Linked DNA regions of Homo sapiens: regions 2, 3 and 4 are each linked to region 1. Evidence: promoter capture Hi-C in human tissues and cell types (Jung and others, 2019). All regions are on one chromosome and are shown on one strand. Each heading gives the region's core, a stretch centred on a gene start or on the middle of the fragment in contact. The rest is flanking DNA. Distances are from core to core; before and after follow the strand shown. Region 1 holds the start of DNAAF3 (dynein axonemal assembly factor 3). Region 2 overlaps SSC5D (scavenger receptor cysteine rich family member with 5 domains). Region 3 holds the start of ISOC2 (isochorismatase domain containing 2). Region 4 overlaps LOC105372462 (a long non-coding RNA gene).

What was found. The method cuts DNA at HindIII sites, captures the fragments that hold promoters and counts their contacts. A contact is called where the count stands out against the background at its distance.
Region 2: a contact is called between a fragment that was not itself captured here and the fragment with the promoter of DNAAF3 in region 1, in 2 of the 25 tissues and cell types used here (dorsolateral prefrontal cortex and lymphoblastoid cells).
Region 3: a contact is called between the fragment with the promoter of ISOC2 here and the fragment with the promoter of DNAAF3 in region 1, in 1 of the 25 tissues and cell types used here (mesenchymal stem cells).
Region 4: a fragment that was not itself captured here is called in contact with the fragment with the promoter of DNAAF3 in region 1 in 5 of the 25 tissues and cell types used here (IMR-90 fibroblasts, dorsolateral prefrontal cortex, lymphoblastoid cells and 2 more).

What each region holds. Positions count from the first base shown.
Region 1 is chr19:55,165,077-55,168,681 of GRCh38, reverse strand. DNAAF3 (dynein axonemal assembly factor 3) reads left to right here and starts at 2,069. Exons shown (of 12, transcript NM_001256715.2): 1 at 2,069-2,159; 2 at 2,265-2,353; 3 at 2,682-2,824; 4 at 3,219-3,312. The coding sequence starts at 2,269. It overlaps DNAAF3-AS1 (DNAAF3 antisense RNA 1), which reads right to left. Exons shown (of 4, transcript XR_007067345.1): 4 at 1,778-2,863. It overlaps LOC124904795 (small nucleolar RNA U13), which reads right to left and starts at 1,511; the gene lies at 1,408-1,511. RefSeq lists a silencer at 2,458-2,689. The HindIII fragment of the contact is 9,836 bases long and covers 1-3,605 here.
Region 2 is chr19:55,512,909-55,516,513 of GRCh38, reverse strand. SSC5D (scavenger receptor cysteine rich family member with 5 domains) reads right to left here. Exons shown (of 14, transcript NM_001144950.2): 13 at 3,342-3,503. Among named protein-coding and RNA genes, the nearest start is that of SBK2, 22 kb to the left of the region's middle. The HindIII fragment of the contact is 4,152 bases long and covers 1-3,605 here.
Region 3 is chr19:55,460,204-55,463,808 of GRCh38, reverse strand. ISOC2 (isochorismatase domain containing 2) reads left to right here and starts at 2,167. Exons shown (of 6, transcript NM_001136201.2): 1 at 2,167-2,297. C19orf85 (chromosome 19 open reading frame 85) reads left to right here. Exons shown (of 2, transcript NM_001386794.1): 2 at 1-808. The coding sequence ends at 337. RefSeq lists an enhancer at 60-782. The HindIII fragment of the contact is 25,257 bases long and covers 1-3,605 here.
Region 4 is chr19:55,421,064-55,424,668 of GRCh38, reverse strand. All of the region lies in intron 2 of LOC105372462 (a long non-coding RNA gene), which reads right to left. Among named protein-coding and RNA genes, the nearest start is that of UBE2S, 15 kb to the right of the region's middle. The HindIII fragment of the contact is 5,851 bases long and covers 1-3,605 here.

The DNA of each region.
Region 1 (3,605 bases), core at 820-3,319:
AACACTTTGAGAGACCAAGGCGGGCAGATCACCTGAGGTCGTGAGTTGGAGACCAGCCTGACCAACACGGAGAAACCCTGTCTCTACAAAAAATACAAAATTAGCCGGGCGTCCTGGCGCCTGCCTGTAATCCCAGCTACTCGGGAGGCTGAGGCAGAAGAATGGCTTGAACCCGGGAGGCGGAGGTTGCGGTGAGCCGAGATCGCGCCATTGCACTCCAGCCTGGGCAACAAGAGTGAAACTCTCTCTCTCTCTCTCTCTCTCTCTCTCTCTCTATATATATATATATATATATGTATATATATGTATATTTGTATTTTATTTTGTATATATATACAAAATATTTGTATTTTATTTTGTGTATATATAAATATATATACATATATTTGTATTTTATTTTGTGTGTGTATATATATATATATACACAAAATAAAATACAAATACAAAAATTAGCTGGTGTGGTGGCAAATGCCTGTAGTCCCAGCTACCTGGGAGGCTGGGACAGGAGAATCGCTTGAACCCGGGAGGCGGAGGTTTCAGTGAGCCGAGATCGCGCCACTGCACTCCAGCCTGGGTGTCACAGCAAGACTCCATCTCAAAAAAAAAAAATGTCACTCTGGTTCCTTTGCTGAGAATTTGTTGGGAGAGTGGGAGAAATAGGGAGGAAAGGCATTAATTCTCCAGAGAGAAACCCAGGATCTGGGGCTCTTGCAGGCTTAGAGCTGGCCTGGAAGGGGCTGGTTAGCCAGCCTGATTCTGCAGGAATGTCTGAGGTCTCAACCTTCGTTTCCCCAGTAGGTATTGTCTTCCCAGTGCCCAGATCTGCCCTCAGGAGGCAGATCCGCTGCACCTCTGCCCGCTGCACGCTACATTCCCATTTCACAGAGCAGCAGACTGAGGCTCAGAAAGGGTGACTGGTCTAAGCTCATGTGTCTGGGCAAGGAGAGGAGGCAGAGAGCCAAGTCCCCTTGGGCGCTGAGCCCAGTGCTGGGTGCTGGGGTGATCTAGAGATGTGCCTCATTCAGACTTTGGTTTTTCTTTTTTTTTTTTTTGAGACAGAGTCTTGCTCTGTCGCCCAGGCTGGAGTTCAGAGGCGCGATCTCAGTTCACTGCAACCTCTGCCTCCCAGGTTCAACAGACTCTCCTGCCTCAGCCTCCGGAGTAGCTGGGATTACAGGTGCGTGCCACCACGCCCGGTTAATTTTTGTATTTTTTAAGGTCGAGGCGCGGTTTCACCATGTTGGCCAGACTGGTCTCCAACTTCTGACCTCAAGTTATCTGCCCACCTTGACCTCCCAAAGTGTTGGGATCACAGGCGTGGCCACAGCGCCCGGCCGACTTACCCTTATTTTAATGCAGTTGATTTAACTGTACGATTACAGAATTTACCTGTAATTTTTTTGTTCATGTCAGAAGAGTAATGTGCCGATGTCGTAACAAGGTTTGAGGGAGGCACATCTCACGCATGCGCGTGAACACCCAATCATCCCGCTTAGAAACTACAAAAGGATCTAGCTGTAAGTTTAAATTATGGCTTCGTGTAACAATAACCAGCTCACAAATCCCTGAATTTTTAATGACCTGCACATCAGTGTCCCACCTGTGGGCTGTTCTGTGTGGTAGAGCCCACGTTGTGCTGGGGCGGGGAGCGGGCTCAGAAGCCTGCCATCTAAAGTCTAGACACTTCACTTTATTTGAATTGATGAAAATTCCGTTACGTATGAGCAAAGGCATATGAAGAAAACAAAAAAACAAAAAACAAGAAATAAGATTAAGCTCCCTTCACTCTCAATTTTAATCAGCCCAGGCCTCCCCCATTCCAGAAATTTGGACCGACCCTGACTCCGCCCCAACCTGTTCTAGCACCGCCCCTTCCCCCGCCGGCGCCGTCGTCATGACAACCGCGTCCACACGCCCTCTTCTCCTAGGTGTGGGGGAAGGCTGGCCCTCAGTGCTCCCATTGGCCAAAAGTTTGTAGAGGGCGGGCCTCGCTCACTCTCATTGGTCAGTTGCTCGCTGTGGTCCCATCCCACATGCTTCCATTGCTTGATTCCTCGAAAAGGGCGGGGACTCTGGGCAGCGGTTGTGGAGTGCCGCGGGTCCACAGTGCTGCACTGAGCAGAGAGGAAGGGGCGTCCCGGGATATTTGGAGGATAAAGGTGTGGGCAAGGTATCATGTGGAGGCAAAGGGGCGAGAAGTGAGGGGCGGTGAGAGGGGAGCGGGGCGGGCAATGTGTGCGATTCCCAGAATGTCTTTTCCGCAGGGTGATGACCACACCTGCCGGCTCCGGCAGCGGCTTCGGCTCCGTGTCCTGGTGGGGCCTGTCCCCGGCGCTGGACCTGCAGGCTGAAAGTGAGTCCCAGCACGCAAGGTCTGATACACCGTCTGCCTTCCCAGCCTGAGCAGACGGCCTTTTAGAGCTCGTAGTCCCAGCGTCGGTGGCAAGGGGGGCGCTAACGTTCTCCAACGCTCCAGCGGCAGAGGGCGCGCTCCCAGGGGCAGCCCCGAGGTCCTGTCTGCGGACTGCGAATCCCAGAATACTCAGAGGAAACACCTCCCCTTAGAACCTAGGCCACGGGCGGAACGCCTACTGGGATTTGTAGTCCATTTTTTATAGGGGATGCTACGGTGGACGCTCTGCCAACCACCATGGTGCCCCAGCCAGCTGTCATCTTGCCAGGTCCTCCTGTGGACCCAGACTCCCAGGCCGATACAGTGCACAGCAACCCCGAGCTAGATGTGCTGCTTCTGGGCTCTGTGGATGGACGGCACCTGCTGCGGACCCTGTCCCGAGCGAAGTTCTGGCCTCGCAGGAGGTTCAACGTGAGCTGGGATGAAGATGAGAGCCCAGATTCCCGAGTCCTTGAGGGAGGAAGGGATTGAAATTCTAAAACCTCAGGTCCAGGAATGAAGGGGCTGGAGACTCCTAGATCTGAGGGAGGCAGAAGCTGGGAGCGAACCGATGCGTCTTGGGGGAAGGAAGGGGCTGGGGTTTGGAACTCCTGGGTTCTATAGTGGGGAAGAGCTCGAGGATGAGGTCTTCTGAGTAATGGAAGGGAAGAGAGCTCTGGGGACACAGACTTCTGTGTTTGAAGGAAGAGGCTGGTGTACAGAACTCGGGTGTGTGGAAGGAGAGAGCTGAGGGCCTGCTCTCCTGGGTCTCCTAGGACCCAGGCAAACAGGTCTCAGAATTATTCTGCCCTGTCCATCCTTCTAGTTCTTTGTGCTGGAGAATAATCTGGAAGCTGTGGCCCGACACATGCTGATCTTCAGCCTAGCCCTGGAGGAACCGGAGAAGATGGGGCTGCAAGGTCTGTTGCTAGGACCCAGGCATTCTGACCGCTGGTCTCCTCCCCCTCCCTAGAGGGATTCTGGCATTTCAATGGTACAATTAAAAAGTTTGGTTATTTTCCTGGGAGGCGGAGGTTACAGTGAGCCGAGATCGCGCCATTGCACTCCAGCCTAGGCAACAAGAGCGAAACTCCGGCCGGGCGCGGTGGCTCACGCCTGTTAATCCCAGCACTTTGGGAGGCCGAGGCAGGAGAATGGCGTGAACCCGGCAGGCGGAGCTTGCAGTGAGCTGAGATCGCGCCACTGCACTCCA
Region 2 (3,605 bases), core at 824-3,323, 350 kb before region 1:
ACTTTTTTTTTTTTTTTGAGATGGAGTCTCGCTCTGTCGCCCAGGCTGGAGTGCAGTGGCGTGATCTCGGCTCACTGCAAGCTCCGCCTCCCGGGTTCACACCATTCTCCTGCCTCAGCCTCCCGAGTAGCTGGGACTACAGGCGCCCGCCACCACACCAGGCTAATTTTTTGTATTTTTAGTAGAGACGGGGTTTCACCGTGTTGGCCAGGATGGTCTCGATCTCCTGACCTCGTGATCCGCCCGCCTGGGCCTCCCAAAGTGCTGGGATTACAGGCATGAGCCATCGCGCCCGGCCTTCAGTTACATTTTTGATACCGAGTTCATCATGGGTTTTTTTTTTTTTGGCATTAATTTTCATTTTAAAAAATACTGTATTATGATATTATGTATCTTGATTTTGGCGTTTTGGGCACCCCCTTAAATTTTGGGCCTGAGTAGCAGGAGGAGCCTGACCCTCTTCTGGGGCTGTCTTCCAAGTGAGTGCCAATTTTATCCCCATTTTACAGAAGGGGGAAATTAGGGCAAGAGGGCAGGTGACTCGCCCAAGGTCACACAGACATAGTTTGCAAGTTGCAGGGCTAAGACTTGAACCCAAGTTGTTTGCACATAGAGTCTAGGCAATGAAATCTCACATCTGCAGTGATGGGAATGCGCTGTGATCTACCGTGCCAATACAGTAGCCACTGGCCACATGTGGCTACCAAGCCCTTGAAATGCGGCCAGTGTGAATGAGAAACTAAATGTTTCATTTTCTTTTATTTTATTTTATTTTTTTTTTTGAGACGGAGTCTCACTCTGTCGCCCAGGTTAGAGTGCAGTGGCACGATCTCGCCTCACTGCCAGCTTTGCCTCCCAGGTTCATGCCATTCTCCTGCCTCAGCCTCCCGAGAAGCTGGGACTACAGGCGCTCGCCACCATGTCCTGCTAATTTTTTGTATTTTTAGTAGAGATGGGGTTTCACTGTGTTAGCCAGGACGGTCGCGATCTCCTGACCTCGTGATCCGCCCGCTTCGGCCTCCCAAAGTGCTGGGATTACAGGCGTGGCCACTGCGCCCGGCAAATGTTTCATTTTCAAAGTGTTAATTCATTTAACTTTTTTTTTTTTTTTTTTTTTGAGACGGAGTTTCACTCCTGTTGCCCAGGCTGGAGTGCAGTGGCGCGATCTTGGCTCGCTGCAATCTCCGCCTCCTGGGTTCAAGTGATTCTCCTGTGTCCACTTCCTGAGTAGCTGGGATGACAGGCATGTGCCACCATGCCCAGCTAATTTTTTTGTATTTTTAGTAGAGATGGGGTTTCACTATGTTGTTCAGGCTAGTCTTGAACCCCCGACCTCAGGTGATCTGCCTGCCTCAGCCTCCCAAAGTGCTGGAATTTCAGGCGTGAGCCACCATGCCCGGTGCTCTTAGCTACCGTATTGAACCACACAGATCTACAGATTTCCACTTGTTCCTGCAGGGCAGGGTCTTTCAGGCGCATCCCTTCCCCACCTTGTCCTTTGTTTGCAGGATTGGAGAAGCGGTTAAGTAAAGGGCTTGTGCTCAAGGCAGGCTGTCCGAGTTTAAACCCCAGCTGCATGGCTTCCTAGCGGGGTGACCACGGCCAAGTTACTTCACTGCTTGAATCTCAGTTTCTTCCTCAGCTATAGACTGTGGATGATCCGCGTATCTCCCTTGCAGAGCTGTCAAAAGGACTCAGGGAGACCATGGTTGTGCAAAGCACTTAGTGTAATGTCTAGCATGGAATAAGCACTCTAATAATTATTGATGTCAGAGTCACTGATGTCTGTGCCTCAATTTCACTCATCTGAGAAATGGGCAAAATTATAGATCTACGTCATGGAGCTCATGCAGATTTCCTTCCCTCCTTTCTCCCTTCCTCCCTTCTTCTCTCTCTCTCTTTTTTTTTTTTTTTTAACAGAGTCTTTCTCTGTTGCCCAGGCTGGAGTGCAGTGGTGCGATCTCAGCTCACTGCAACCTCCGCCTCCCAGGTTCAAGCAGTTCTCCTGCCTCAGCCTCCCGAGTAGCTGGGATTACAGGCGCCTGCCACCACACCTATTATTATTATTATTATTATTATTATTATTATTATTATTATTATTATTATTTTGAGACAGAGTCTCACTCTGTTGCCCAGGCTGGAGTGCAGTGGCGCAATCTCGGCTCACTGCAAGCTCTGCCTCCTGGGTTCACGCCATTCTCCTGCCTCAGCCTCCCGAGTAGCTGGGACCATAGGTGCCTACCACCACGCCTGGCTAATTTTTTGTATTGTTAGTAAAGACAGGGTTTCACCGTGTTAGCCAGGATGGTCTCGATCTCCTGACCTCGTGATCTGCCCGCCTCAGCCTCCCAAAGTGCTGGGATTACAGGCGTCAGCCATTGCAGCCAGCCTAATCATGCTTAACTTTACTAAATACTGCTGGATTGTCTTTATCAAACAGCTCTGTCCAGTGGGGTTGCCTGTCTTCCCACATCCTCACTCACACTGGATAATACCCACCTTTCTCATTCTCCTCTGTACTTGCCATTGTTTTAATTTGTATTTTCTGGTTCCTGATGAGCGTGGGCATTTCTAAATACACTCAGCCATTTGGGCTTCCTTTTCTGGGAATCACCTGTTTTCCTCTTTCTCATCTAGGGTTTCCTATCATTTTCCTATTTGTCACAGTGACTTATGCCATCTAGGCTGGGGTTTCTCAACCTCGGTACTATTGTAATTTAGGGCTGGGTGGTTCTTTGTTATGGGGAATGTCGTGTGCATTGTGAATGTTTATCACCACCCCGGCCTCTACCGATCAGGTGCCAATGGGTAGCCTCTCACTTCCTGCCATGACAATCCAAAATATCTTCAGATATTGCCAAATTCCCCTTGGGGGCAAAATCGACCCTAGTTGATGACCAGCGGTCTAGATAATAACCTCTTGGTTCTGTTTTTGTCTTTATTTGAGACAAGGTCTCGCTCTGGCACCCAGGCTGGAATACAGTGGCACAACCACAGCCTCGAGCACCCAGGCTCAAGGGATCCTCCTGCCTCAGCCTCCCAAGCAGCTGGGACCACACGTGCGTACCACCACACCCAGCTAATGTTCATATCTTGGGGGGCTCACCATGTTGCCCAGGCTGCTCTCAAACTCCCGAGCTTAAGCAATCCTCCCAACTCGGCCTCCCAAAGTGCTGTGATTACAGGCATGAGCCACCATGCTCAGCCGATAACCCTTTGTTTTAGGGTATATTTCTGCTGAGTCTTTCTGGGGTAAGGGTTCCAGTGGGGAGTCTGGAATCTGTCTCTTTACCCCAGGACAAATACCGTCCCAGTCTCCTCACCCCAGCCACGTGTCTCACCTGTGTCTCCATGGACTCTCAGAGTTGGAGGACTGCCTGGGCTCCTGGTGGTGCCAGCCCCAAGAGTTGGTCCTAGTTTGCCTGCGGTAGGGGTCCCCTCAGCCAGGCCCCTTCCTGATGGTGTGTCCCACGTCCAGGGAAGCTTGTAACCATCTTTGCTGCCTAGAGAGATATGGGGAAGAGGATTGAGTCTTCCAACTTCCCTTTGAGTTTGACTCCCCGTCTCTCTCCTCCTGGGCCAGCCCCAGTTCAGGCATCATCCCG
Region 3 (3,605 bases), core at 918-3,417, 300 kb before region 1:
TGCCAGCGCCAGCCTGAGTCTCGCTGCCCTGGACACCTCTACCCTCGACCTCTTTGACAACATTGCGCTCACCCCAGAGTGTGCCTCAATGCCATGGGACCCCTCCTCTGGTTCTGATGCTCCCCTGCCAGCGCCGGGTCTGTCCCATCGCGACCTGGGCCAGCTGGACCTGAGGCAGGTCCCACATTTCTGCGGCCCCCTGCCCCTTCCCCAGCATGCCCTGGGGGAAGAGGCTGATCTCGTGGCTCCCGACTGGGGTTGGGTGGACTGCTGGGAGGTGCCTCGTGCCTGGGATTCTCAGGGGATCCCCGAGGGTTGGGGGACCAGCTCCCCATGAGGCCAATCACAACCCAGCCCAGAACCCAGGACAAGCCAGAGGCCCCTCCACGACGGCTCTACAGCCCTCTCCAGGAGCCCCCAACCTGTCCACTCCCTTCCTGGCAGCCCCTGGGAAAATAAACCAACCCAGACCCCCACTTCAGACCACTGCCTCAGGGGTCTCCTCCTGGGCCCAGGGGCCCCACCTCCACCTCTTCTTGCTTTCCTGCCTTCCCCCTTCCTTCTGCCTAGCCCCATCTGGGCATCCACCCCTCACTCTCACCCAGGCTCACCTCTGCCTAATGTCTGCTCTCCTGTCATTTATTCCCAAAGATGTATCGAGCGCCTACTATGGGCCAGGCCCAGGTCTAGGACTTGAGGATTCAGCTGTGAACGAGGCAGACGGGACCCCTGCCTCAGGGAGCTCCCTGTTCTGTGTGCATGTGTGTGTTTTGGCGGGGAACAGACAATAAAAGAGTATATCCATGCATTTTTCAAAAAGCAAGATTCATTTCCAATTCAGATTGGAGTTAGTGCTGAAAAGAAAATAAAACACAAGGCCGGGTGCGGCGGCTCACACCTGTAATCGCAGCACTCTGGGAGGCCAAGGCAGGCGGATCACTTGAGCCCAGGAGTTCAAAACCAGCCTGGGCAACAGAGTGAGACCTCCATCTTTACAAAAAAATTAAAAAATTAGTCAGGTGTGGTGGCGCATACCTGTGGTCCCAGCTACTCAGGAGGCTGAGGTGGGAGGATCGCTTGAGCCCGGGAGGTTGAGGCTGCAGCAAGCTGTGATCGTACCATGGTACTCCAGCCTGGGTGATAGAGCAATTTTTTTCTTTTTTTTGATGTTTCAAAAAAATTAAAAACAGCGACCTGATGGAAGGGCTACCTGACACCAGGTGGTCAGGAAAGGCTTTGAAAGCCTGGAAGGTTGGGCCATGGGGAGTCCTAGGATTCCAGGCTGAGGCAGCACACGTGCAAAGGCCCTGCGGTGGGACATTGAGGGAAGAGCAAGAGGAGACCCCTGTGGCTGGAGCGGAGTGAGCAGGGGGAGTGGTGAGAGGCGAGGTCTGCACGGACCAGGAAGGCCGACCATGAATTGGGAGGAGTTTGGATTTATTCCAAGACAGATAGGAAATTCTCTCTTTCTCTCAACCTCCATTTCCAAGCACAGAGTCTAAATTATTCTAAACACCACCCGAGGAGGCAGGTGCTGTACAGATGGGGAAACTGAGGCAGCACAGAGCGCAAAGGACAGGGGGGCGTCAAATTCCTCACTTGATCGCTCCCTCAGCCAGCCCCTTCCTGGAAAGTGCTTGGGTATCTTTGTAAGCCTCCGTTTCTTGAGAGAGGGCCAGGTTTCGAACCGCAGACATGCCTCTACTCTAGGTAAGACCCCTCTCTCTCTCTCCCGGCCTCGGCGGTCTGCTCTGTGCAATGGGGCCGGCCGAGACGCCCTCTCTCCAGCCAGAGTCTGAGCCTTCGGAGACCACCGCGCGACTCCGCCCCGTCGGCCGCCACTCACGCCCTCTACGGCTCTCCATTGGCAGAACGACCTGCTGCCCCGCCCCCACGGCGCCTTTGCGAGCTAATCATTTTCTTGAGACTGACAGCCTTGCCGGCACCGCCCCCCCTGGGGCGGGAGCAAAGCAGCTGCATATGCGGATTGGTTGAGAGGCAGGGGGCGGGGTGAGTTGGTGAGCGCCGATTGCGGGCAGAGGCAGTGGCACATGCGGATTGGCCGGAGAGAGCGGCGAGGCAGAGCATGATGAGTGTCGATTGGACGGCTGGGCCCAAGTGGGCGGAAAACGGACGGTGCAGGGGGTGGGCCACGTGTCCAGCCCTAACGAAACGGTAACCAGCCCTGGGAAGCCCGCAAGAGGCCTCAGCGGTGGCCGTCCGAGAGCCGAGAGGTGAGGGTGCCCCCGCCTCACCTGCAGAGGGGCCGTTCCGGGCTCGAACCCGGCACCTTCCGGGTAAGTCCTCTCTCGCTGCTGGCGCTATTTGGAGACCGACCTTACCGCCTAGCAGATGGGGAAACTGAGGCTCTGCCTGGGCGTCCCGGGCCAAGGTCACAGGACCAGAAGGAGGACTCCACCTGGCCCCGCCAGAATTGGCTGGCCAGAGATTGGAAGCGTCCCCGGGTCGCGCCTGCCGCCTCTGTAACAGCGCTGGGGGGTGGGCAGGTTTAATCCCCATTTCTCCGACGAGAAAACTGAGGCTAAGACAAAGAGAAACTTGCCCAAGGTCACACAGCCAGGAAGTCCGGGCTCCAAGGCCGGGTTTCCGAGACCGGGTGGGGAAATCAACGGCCCTACCCCGCCCCCTGTTGCCGCCCACCTCCAGCCACGCCCCCTTTGGCCTTGGGTACCCTCCACCCAGGCTGAATCTCTCCTCGTTCCGCAGGACACGCCCAACCCTCTCCAGCCCAGACCTCCCCTTCACATCTCTCTCTCTCACACACCCACCCTCACCCCAATTTTTCATCTCCCAAAAACCAGTTCCCCTCCCCGGGATCCCCTATGAATCTTCAGATCATGCCCCTCGCTCGACCAGAAACTGGGGGCCTTTCTCCCCGACTTTCCCCACCGTCCCAGCTGCCCCTTCCTGACTCTCCCCTGTCCCACTGGGCCCCAGCGCCGACCTCCTGCTCTCTGGCCTTTTGCCTCCAGTTCAACCGCACGGCGGGGGCCTGAAGCCATCTTTGTATTTTGCATTTTGAACACTTTTTCTGGAATAATACCACAAACGCAGAAAATCGAACGGTTTGCAAATACACAGCTTAAATAAATATTTATAAAGGGAGCACCCTGGTGTAAACAAGTATCCAAAGAAAAAAGTCAAACATGCGCCACATCCCAGGATCTCCCGCCGTCGTCGTTTCCATCACTGTGGTCCAAGGGCAGTCACTGTCCTGGCTTCTGACGCCATAGATCAGTTTTGCCGGGTTTTGGCTTTATGCCAACCCTTTATTGTATATAGTATTGACTAGACAACTTGTTGCACATTGTCCAGAATTCAGAAGAAACAGAATAGGACCCAGTGAAAAGGCTCCTACAGACTTCCCCGGTGCCTGGTTCACCCGCCTGAGTCTCCCGTTTCTTGCTTGTTTGCCAGAGATAGCAGATATAGATATAGGCAACACAGACACATTTTCCTCTCCCTTTTTTCTTTGGCACAAAAAGGAGCATTCCATACACACTGTTCTGCTTCTTTTTCACTTCTCTCAAACATGTTTTCGTATTGTTACTTAAAGAGCTTCCTCGTAATTTTTTCTGGCTGCG
Region 4 (3,605 bases), core at 614-3,113, 260 kb before region 1:
AACTGGATGGCTGGGGCTTTTTACTTCTAAATGCCCTTTTGCACTTCTGGATTTTTGTATCGGCAAGTGTACTCTCTACTGTTTTGTTTTGTTTTTTAGACAGGGTGTTGCTCTATTGCAGAGGCTGGAGTGCAGTGGTGCAATCTCAGCTCACTGCAGCCTTGATTCCCCAAGTGATCCTCAGCCTCCTGACTAGCTGGGATTACAGGTGCCCACCACCAGGCCCCCAGCTAATTTTTGTATTTTTACTAGAGACGGGGTTTCGCCACATTGGCCAGGCTGGTCTCGAACTCCTGACCTCAGATAATCTGCCCACCTCGGCCTCCCAAAGTGCTGGGATTACAGGCATGAGCCACCATGCCTGGCCCTACTTTTTTTTTTTAATAGAATTTTTAAATTCTGCAGCAGGAGAATCGCTTGAACTCAGGAGGAGGAGGTTGCAGTGAGCCAAGATCGCTGAGATCGCCAAGATCGTGCCACTGCACTCCAGCCTGGCTGGCAGAGTGAGACTCTGCCTAATAAATAAATAAATTAATTAATTAATTAATTAACAGAAAAGAAAGAAAAAAGAATTTAAAAAAATATAAATGTAGAGATGGGAATCTGGCTATGCTGACCAGGCTAGTCTTGAACTCCTGACCTCGAGCGATCCTCCCACCTCAGCCTCCCACAGCGTAGATTTAAATGCAAATGGTGCAGACTTTGCCTGCCATTCCCCTCACTAAGCATATGCCAAGACACGTGAGAGAGATGGGCGACTGGAGTCTCATTCCTCTCCCTCAGAGGGTGATTAGCTTCCCACTCTGAATCGGAACTCCAGTGCTTCAGTGTATGTATTTTCATTCCTCATGGATGCCACATGCCAGCCAACGGATTCATTTGTGTTCAACAAGAGAAGAGCAATCTGCTCCACACCCACTGTGTGCAGGGCGGGCAAGTCAAGGATAAGATCTGACATGAGCATTCTGCCTTCAGTGTTCGCCTTTGTCACCTAACACTCGCTCAACTGGCAACCCGACTGTGCCAATAAATGCAGCCTCTCAGCAGCTATTCTTAACCCGCATTTGAAGGGTGGGCTTGTGAATGTCTCAAATCTATGCCAGATGTTGTGTGCATGCTTTTTCATTTCACTTTTCTTGACTTTATATTTTGAAATAATTTCAAATGTACAGAACAGTTACAAGAATAAGTCAAAGAACTTCTGTGTCATTTTCACCAACTCACCATTTGTTACCATTATATGACATCATTGTATGGTTTTCTTTCCATATAAATATTCATCTCGGCTGGGCACGGTGGCTCATACCTGTAATCCCAACACTTTGAGAGGCCGAGATGGGTGGATTGCTTAAGCTCAGGAGTTTGACATCAGCCTGGGCAACATGGTGAAACCTCATCTCTACCAAAACAACAACAACAACAACAAAACAACAACAACAACAACAAAATATATATATATATATATGCACACAAAAAATTAGCTGGGCATGCTGGCATGCACCTGTAGTTCCAGCTACTCAGGAGGCTGAGGCGGGAGGATCGCTTGAGCCCAGGAGGTAGAGGTTGCAGTCAGCCAAGATCACACCACTGCACTCCAGCCTGGGCCACAAAGCCAGAACCTGTCTCATAAAAAAAAAAAAAAAAAAAATGCCGGACATGGTGGCTCATGTCTGTAATCCCAGCACTTTGGGAGGCTGAGGCAGGTGGATCACCTAAGGTCAGGAGTTTGAGACCAGCCTGGCCAACATAATGAAACCCCGTCTCCACTAAAAATACAAAAAATTAGCTGGGCGTGGTGGCAGGCGCCTGTAATCCCAGCTACTCGGTAGGCTGAGGCAGGAGACTTGCTTGAACCCAGGAGGCAGAGGTTGCAGTGAGCCAAGATCGTGCCATTGCACCACAGCCTGGGCAACAAGAGCAAAACTCCATCAAAAAAAAGAAAGAAAAAAAAAAGCCAGGTGCAGTGGCTCACCCCTGTAATCCCAGCATTTTGGGAGGCCGAGGCGGGCAGATCACGAGGTCAGGAGATCAAGACCATCCCGGTTAACATGGTGAAACCCCGTCTCTACTAAAAATACAAAAATTAGCCAGGCGTGGTGGTGGGTGCCTGTAATCCCAGCTACTCAGGAGGCTGAGGCGGGAGAATCGCTTGAACCTGGGAGGCGGAAGTTGCAGTGAGCCGAGATCGTGCCATTGCACTCCAGCCTGGGTTACAGAGCGAGACACCTTCTAAAAAAAAGAAAAAAATCGTGTTTTTTTTTTTTGGAGATATTTGGGAGTAAGTTGCACCTATCACATCCCTTTACCCCTAGAGGCCATTCTGAAGAACAAGGCCACTCTCTTACACATCCACAGCATAATTATCACACTCAAGAATTTAGCATTGACCAAGTCCATGTTTGAATTGCATCAAGCGTCCTGCTACTGTCTTTCAGAGCAGCTTTCAGTTTGTGACACTCCAGGATTGGGTGTTGCATGCAGCTATTGTGCTTCTTGAGGTGGCTTCTTTTTTTTTTTTTTTTTTTTGAGACAGAGTCTCGCTCTGTTGCCCAGGCTGGAGTGCAGTGGTGCGATCTCAGCTCACTGCAAGCTCCGCCTCCTGGGTTCACGCCATTCTCCTGCCTCAGCCTTCCAAGTAGCTGGGACTACACGTGCCCGCCACCAAGCCTGGCTGATTTTTTTCTATTTTCAGTAGAGACGGGGTTTCCCCATGTTAGCCAGGATGGTCTCGATCTCCTGACCTTGTGATCCGCCCGCCTCGGCCTCCCAAAGTGCTGGGATTACAGGCATGAGCCACTGCGCCCGGCTGAGGTGGCTTCACTCTGAAACAGTTACTCAGTCTTTGTCTTTCTTTTCTATTTTTATTTTTTATTATTGCACACAATTCACGCAGAGATTAAGGAGATGTTTTTTTTAAGAGAAGGGGTCTCACTATGTTGCCCAGGCTAGAACTCCTGGGCTCAAGTGATCCTCCTGCCTCAGCCTCCCAAAGTGCTGGGATTACAGGTGGCAGCCACCACGCCCAGCCCAGTCTTTGCCTTTTTTAATGCTGATTTTTTAAAGAATCCAGGTAGGCCATTTTATAGAATATGCCTTGCATTTAGGCGCATCTGATGTTTCCTCATGATTAGATCTGGGTTACATGTGTGAGACAGGAAAACCACAGAAGGGATGCCAGAGTCTCAGCGCTTTGGCTGAAGGAAGCCCATGCTCTCATGCTTCCTGAAGTTCATGTGCTCAGAGCTCATATGCTCTGAGTGCACTCCACCAAGGCTGGAGTGCAGTGGCACCAACGAGACTCACTGCAGCCTTGGCCTTCTGAGCACAAGGGATCCTCTCACCTCAGCCTCCTGAATAGCTGGGATTACAGGTGCACACCAACATGCCTGGCTAATTTTTAAGCTTTTTTTTTAATAGAGATGGGGGTCTCATTGTGTTGCCCAGGCTGGTCTTAAACTCCTGGGCTCAAGCCATCCTCCTGCCTCAGCCTCCCAAAGTGCTGGGATTACAGGTGGGAGCCACTGCACCTGGCCAACAACAGAAGTCTATTTCTTCACAGTTCTGGAGGCTGGAAGTCCAAGATCAAGGTATCAACTACCCAAAGT